2 separate regions of the Homo sapiens genome follow, and region 1 is linked to region 2. The links are contacts of gene promoters, found by promoter capture Hi-C in blood cells and fetal thymus (Javierre and others, 2016). All regions are on one chromosome and are shown on one strand. Each heading gives the region's core, a stretch centred on a gene start or on the middle of the fragment in contact. The rest is flanking DNA. Distances are from core to core; before and after follow the strand shown.

Region 1 (2,740 bases), core at 190-2,689, 560 kb after region 2:
CATGCAAAATAATACTCAGAATGGTGCCTGGCACATAGTAAATATTCAATACACATTACCTGTTATTAAATAAGACAAAATGCCTTTTTTCAAGAAAAGTAGTCAGACAAACAAACAAGACAGATAAAACAAATATGGTGGTCGGGCGTGGTGGCTCACACCTGTAATACCAGCACTTTGGGAGGCTGAGGCGGGCAGATCACCTGAGGCCAGCAGTTCGAGACCAGCCTGGCCAGCATGGTGAAACCCCATCTCTACTAAAAGTACAAAATTAGCTAGGCATGGTGGCGCATGCTATAATCCTGGTTACTGGGGAGGCTGAGGCACGAGAATTGCTTGAACCTGGAAGGCGGAGTTTGCTGTGAGCCAAGATTGTGCCACTGCACTCCAGCCTGGGCAACAAAGCGAGACTCTGTCTCAAAAAATAAAATTCAATTAAAAATAAAATAATTTCAAAAATATGATTACTTACAAATAGTGGTGAGTGCTCAGAAGGAAAGAGAATGCTGCAATAATGAATCCCAGGGGGGGCCTACTTGCTTGGGTACAGACAAACGCCTAGAATAAATGTGGCTGGAGGATATGTGCAACAAAATCCCACTGCTAACCACTACGTCCTGGTGCCAAATCCTGACTCCCCACAACCTTTATTCTTACTGCCCTCTTTCTGGTACCATTACACTGGCCCTTCTTCCCTAAAGGTATCTAATAACAATAATGTTAATAATAGCTAACTATTCAAACACATTACATGACTTAACACTCTTCATCATAGACTTATCAGGCAAACATGATTATTATCTCCATTTTACAAATTAGGAAACTAAGCACAAAGAAATTAAAGTAACTTGTCCAATGAGACCCAGCTAGGAAGGAGCAGAGCCAAGCTTCCTGCTCAGATATTTTGACTCCAACGTTTACATAATTTACTCCCACACTACACTGCCTCTATATACCTAGACTCTTATATTCTTCTCAGAAGTCTTTGAAATGGAGACTCTCAGTGTCCTTAGCTTGCTCTACCAGTTCTCTAACCTGGAGAGAGGTCGGAGGTGGGGAGAAGTTGAAGGCAGAAAGCATACCTGGTCTTCAGGAAGTTTTCCGTCATCTTCTAGGATCTGAAAGAGCTCTCCCTCAGCATAGTCTGTCACCACCACCACCTACAGAGAGAAGGCAGTGGCACTGATGGCTCCAGATTCATGCATTCTGAGGTTGGGAAATTCCTGGAACCCTTGTGCTTGGGGAGACAGGGCCCAAAACTGTCAAAGCACACCTCTTTATCAGTTTCAAAGCTGTCAAGCATATGCACAATGTTGGGATGCCGCAGACCCCGCATTATTTCAATCTCTCGTTGCAAATTCCTCAGCTCCTTCTCTGAGCGCCCCAATTTTGGGATGAACTTCAGGGCCACGACCTGTCAGTGGTAAGGTGAAAAGTTAACGCCTAATCACACTACTGAAAAGATCTAGAATTTCAGCCTTAATCTCAGAGCTCCAGAAGTCAGATTTTAGAGTGTTTGAGTAACTCTTATTATTTCTGTTAGTCTCCCGCTTCCATTTTCTCCATGGTACCCTGGCCTTATCCAGGCTTTCCCCATTCCTCATCCCAGGAGGAAACAGCATCTGCAAAACATTTCCCCTTCTGGAAGAAGTGTTCTGATTTGACCAGCACTCAAGATGAGATTTAGGAGAAAGGAAAGGAAAAAAAAAATGAAGAGGAAATAATAGAGTTCAAGTGGTTTACCTCTTATTACATGGTGTGCTAGAGACTAATAATATTTGTTGTTTACTAACAGCCAGGCACTGTACTAAGTGATTTAATGTGAAAACATATTTAATCCTCAAACTCCATCAATCAGTTGCTGTTCTTATCCCCATTCTAGAGATAAGGAAATTGAGACATAGGGAAGTTAAGTAATTTGTCCATAATTCTAGGGCTAGAAAGCGGTGGAGATGGAATTTGCACCCAAATAATCCAACTTCAAAGCTTATACTCCATAAGAAGTATGAGGGAGTCAGTACCTTAGGAATACAAACTGGTATAAATACATTCCTTCTAGATCCATTTTCCACTGGAGTTGGGGGTACCAAATCCCACCCAAAAGGTATCCCTCTTTGTGCAACACCTGAGCACTGTATTTTCTTCGACCCTTGTACACCCTCCCAAAAGAGCCTTCTCCAATCATCTCCAACACGTGGTACTTTTCCATGACAGAGGTTTCAGGATCTCTTAGAAGGAAGAAAGTAGAGACGGTGAAGAGCTATAGATCCAGGGACAGTTCCACAACATCTGGGACGCCTAGTTGGGGCACGGGAAAGGAAAAATGTTAGCCACCTTGCCTTTTCCTCTTTTTCACAATAAAGCCTCAAAAAACATGGGAGGGTGGAATGCATGCAAAGATGATGCGCTCTTGGAACAAACAGAGCTTCTCTTTGTAGTTCCTCCCCACTTTCATCCTCCTGTCCCCAACCCGGCCCCATGCCCAACTAACACCTGGTTCCCCTTCTCCCTCACCCAGCCTGGCTCACTCGACCCTACTCTTTCAACCTAGCCTCGCCCAACCAACCCTGCTCCTTTGAGTCTCCCCCAAGTTCCTGCCACTCCCAGACTCCTCAGCACCCGCTCTCAGACCCCCTGGCCCGTGCGCTTCGCAGGCCAGAGCCCCTCTCTCACCCCCAGCCTAGGAGCTCCAAGCTCCTCAGGCCAAGGGACGGATTCCCTGGCGTTTAGCCCCATCTCT
Region 2 (2,700 bases), core at 172-2,671:
CTAAAGTTACACAAAACAGGACCGACACGGTGGCTCATGCCTGTAATCTCAGCACTTTGGGAGGCTGACCCAGGCGGATCACTTGAGGCCAGGAGTTTGAGACCAGCCTGGCCAACATGGTGAAACCCCGTCTCTACTAAAAATACAATAATTAGCCGGGCATGGTGGTGCGGGCCTGTAGTCCCAGCTACTCGGGAGGCTGAGGCAGGAGAATCACTTGAACCCGGGAGACGGAGATTGCAGTGGGTGGAGATCGTGCCACTGCACTTTAGCCTGGGCGACAGAGCGAGACTCTCAAAAAATAAAGCTATACGAAACAAATAATAAATTGTTTCATATTCAGCAAAAAGGAATAATTTGAGTGGGGCCTGGTTAAATGTGGAATACATCTGAGAATTTTATCTCTACAAAGTTTAAAGTGTTTTTGAAGGGAATGGTGTTAACGTGAGGAGATACATGCAATGGCAAAAAGACTTGTTTGAAAACAAGGGCTGTGCTGGACATTACCCAGAGATTAAGTGAATTTAATCAAGCAGAAAGATAAATCAATTGGCCTCCTAAGCTCGGGAATACCAATAAGAATGTGTTCCCTGAACGGGCAATACGCTGTAAGGAGCCCTGTCACGTTTCACACGAAACCTTCCAGGATACCTGAACAGGAAGTACGCGGAGCCCGGGCCAGAGCCTCCCCAGGCGCGTGGCTCACCAGGCTCAGGCCCTGAAAGACCGGAGCATCCGCGCTGAGGTCAAACAGGGAGATCGACGCAGGAGCCGGGGCTGCATCTGGAGCCGGCGACATGGCTGAGCAGAAATTATTTAGCAGCAGCTCCTGGAGTAGAAAGCGTGTAAGAAACAGGGCTCCTGCAAACGAGATCCTACTGCTGCGTCTCCTGCCTGCCTGACTTGGTTTCTCCTGCACCGCAAGACTTCTCGTCTCTCATCCTGCTACCAACTGTGAGATGAATACCTTGGCCCCCGTCCACTTTCTCAAACCCCCAGTCTCAGCCCACAAAAGAATGAAATAGGCATTCGGCTCCCAAATCGAGTCCAACAGAGTTAAAAATCACTGAGCTTGCCTAGCCGAACTTTCTTCGTTACCCATGCGACCAGCAACAACTGGCCCGCGTAAACTCGCCCACGCCCTTAGAAGACGCACCAAACGTCCCGGGAGCTGAGCGGCTCGCAAGTCCTCAGGTCGATTGCCGGATTTCTGCAACACAACAATCCCCGTCACTACGGAGCAGCGAAGAGGACAACCGGCGGCGTCCGCACCTGAGCCCCGCCCCACGTAGAGCACACTATTGGGCCGCTGACTGTCCAAGACCCGCCTCGAGACTTTAGTCCCGTCCCTGAAGCCGAGAATTGGCCGTTGTGTCTCCGCCCCCCGTGCTTATTGGCCAGCCTGGCTGCGGGTGACAGTGAGTGGCAGACACCCGGCCTAGCGCCGCGGGTCGCGCCGAGCCGAGCCGAGCCGAGCGGAGCCGGCGGAGCCTCTGGAATCACCCGGGTCGCTGTTCCTGAGGTAAGACGTGAGACCGGTTATTGGAATCCCAGGCCCCGTGTCTGGCCTTGCCCAGGGGTGCCTGCGGAGCCCTAAGTGAGCTCGCGGCGGGTAACGGAGGAAGGGGCGCCGCCGGCGGGGCGGGGGCGCGCAGCCGGAATGTTTTGATTGCTGGCGCGCGCAGACGGGGGCGCGCGCGGGCGCCGGGGCCGCGCGCGAGGTTGTCCGCTGTTGGGAGCTGCCAGCCCTTGGCCTGGGGCCGGGCGACCCTGGGGCGAGGTGGACTCCGGTCCACGGTCGCCGCGGCTGGGTGTGGGGAGGCAAGCCAACCCACCCGGGCTATCAGCTGTAAGGCTGACTCGATCCCTGCAACATCCGCAGGAACCCCTGAGCCCAGGCCCAGCCGGCCGGGGCTCCACGGGCCCTGGTCCACACTGACCCTGTGAGTGGTGACTTCCCTGAGGGGCAGGGCTCTCACTAGCCCAGGGAATCCCACCGGGGCCAGGCTGGGCCAAGATCCACGGCCCCCAGGGGCTGCACGGACAGGTGAGTACCACCTCGACCATGCCTGGCTTACAGGACCTAGGGAACCCACAAATTCACCTAGGATCGGGGGTCTACACTGACCCAGTCAAGGTTTCCCATCCAGAAGGTTTGCTCACCGGCTGGATCTTTGGTGCTAGGGAAGTAAGAGAAGGGGTTGACCAGAAAGGTCCTCTTCAGGAAAGACTCTTGAGGTTTTGTGGACCCTGAGAAGTATGTCATTTCTGAGGCTAAGGTAGGGCAATGGAGAAATAGTCCAGAGGCGCCCCTGGCCTCAGGTCTGTACCCACTCATTCTCCATGGGGTCCCTAAGTTACTTCTTGAGACCCTGGAGTTGGAAGAGTGGCCCGGTTTAGCACAGCCAGAGGAAGTGCTCGTAGTCCTGGGCTGGAAGGGTGCTTCTTCCCCACTGCAGCCTTCCTGCCCCATGCTTGGCCTCCTCTTGGTGGGGTGTGGATGGCTGGGAGGGTTGGGTTCCTTTTTATCCCCACTGCCCACTCTCTGGGGCCTGACATCTTCTCCTCCAGCAGCTGCAGAGCATCGAGGGCTGGAGAGGAGCACATACTGTCCATGGAGCTGGTAGGGCCATGTGCTTTTCTCAAACATTTGTTTGTGAAGTGCTTCCAAACTGTTAGTCTCTTGGGAGACCAGGGTTC

The links. The method cuts DNA at HindIII sites, captures the fragments that hold promoters and counts their contacts. A CHiCAGO score of 5 or more calls a contact.
Region 1: a fragment that was not itself captured here is called in contact with the fragment with the promoter of ATG9A in region 2 in 3 of 17 cell types (naive CD8 T cells, activated CD4 T cells and total CD8 T cells); the score reaches 5.7 in naive CD8 T cells.

Annotation. Positions count from the first base shown.
Region 1 is chr2:218,672,299-218,675,038 of GRCh38, reverse strand. STK36 (serine/threonine kinase 36) reads right to left here. Exons shown (of 27, transcript NM_015690.5): 2 at 2,126-2,298; 3 at 1,274-1,414; 4 at 1,083-1,160. The coding sequence starts at 2,209. Among named protein-coding and RNA genes, the nearest start is that of STK36, 1.6 kb to the right of the region's middle. The HindIII fragment of the contact is 1,099 bases long and covers 890-1,988 here.
Region 2 is chr2:219,228,357-219,231,056 of GRCh38, reverse strand. It overlaps ATG9A (autophagy related 9A), which reads left to right and starts at 1,421. Exons shown (of 16, transcript NM_001077198.3): 1 at 1,421-1,522; 2 at 2,572-2,623. It overlaps ANKZF1 (ankyrin repeat and zinc finger peptidyl tRNA hydrolase 1), which reads right to left and starts at 1,251. Exons shown (of 14, transcript NM_018089.3): 1 at 1,157-1,251; 2 at 652-829. The coding sequence starts at 799. RefSeq lists enhancers at 1,057-1,166, 837-1,384, 1,385-1,932, 1,933-2,481 and silencers at 1,317-1,446, 1,657-1,706. The HindIII fragment of the contact is 5,267 bases long and covers 1-2,700 here.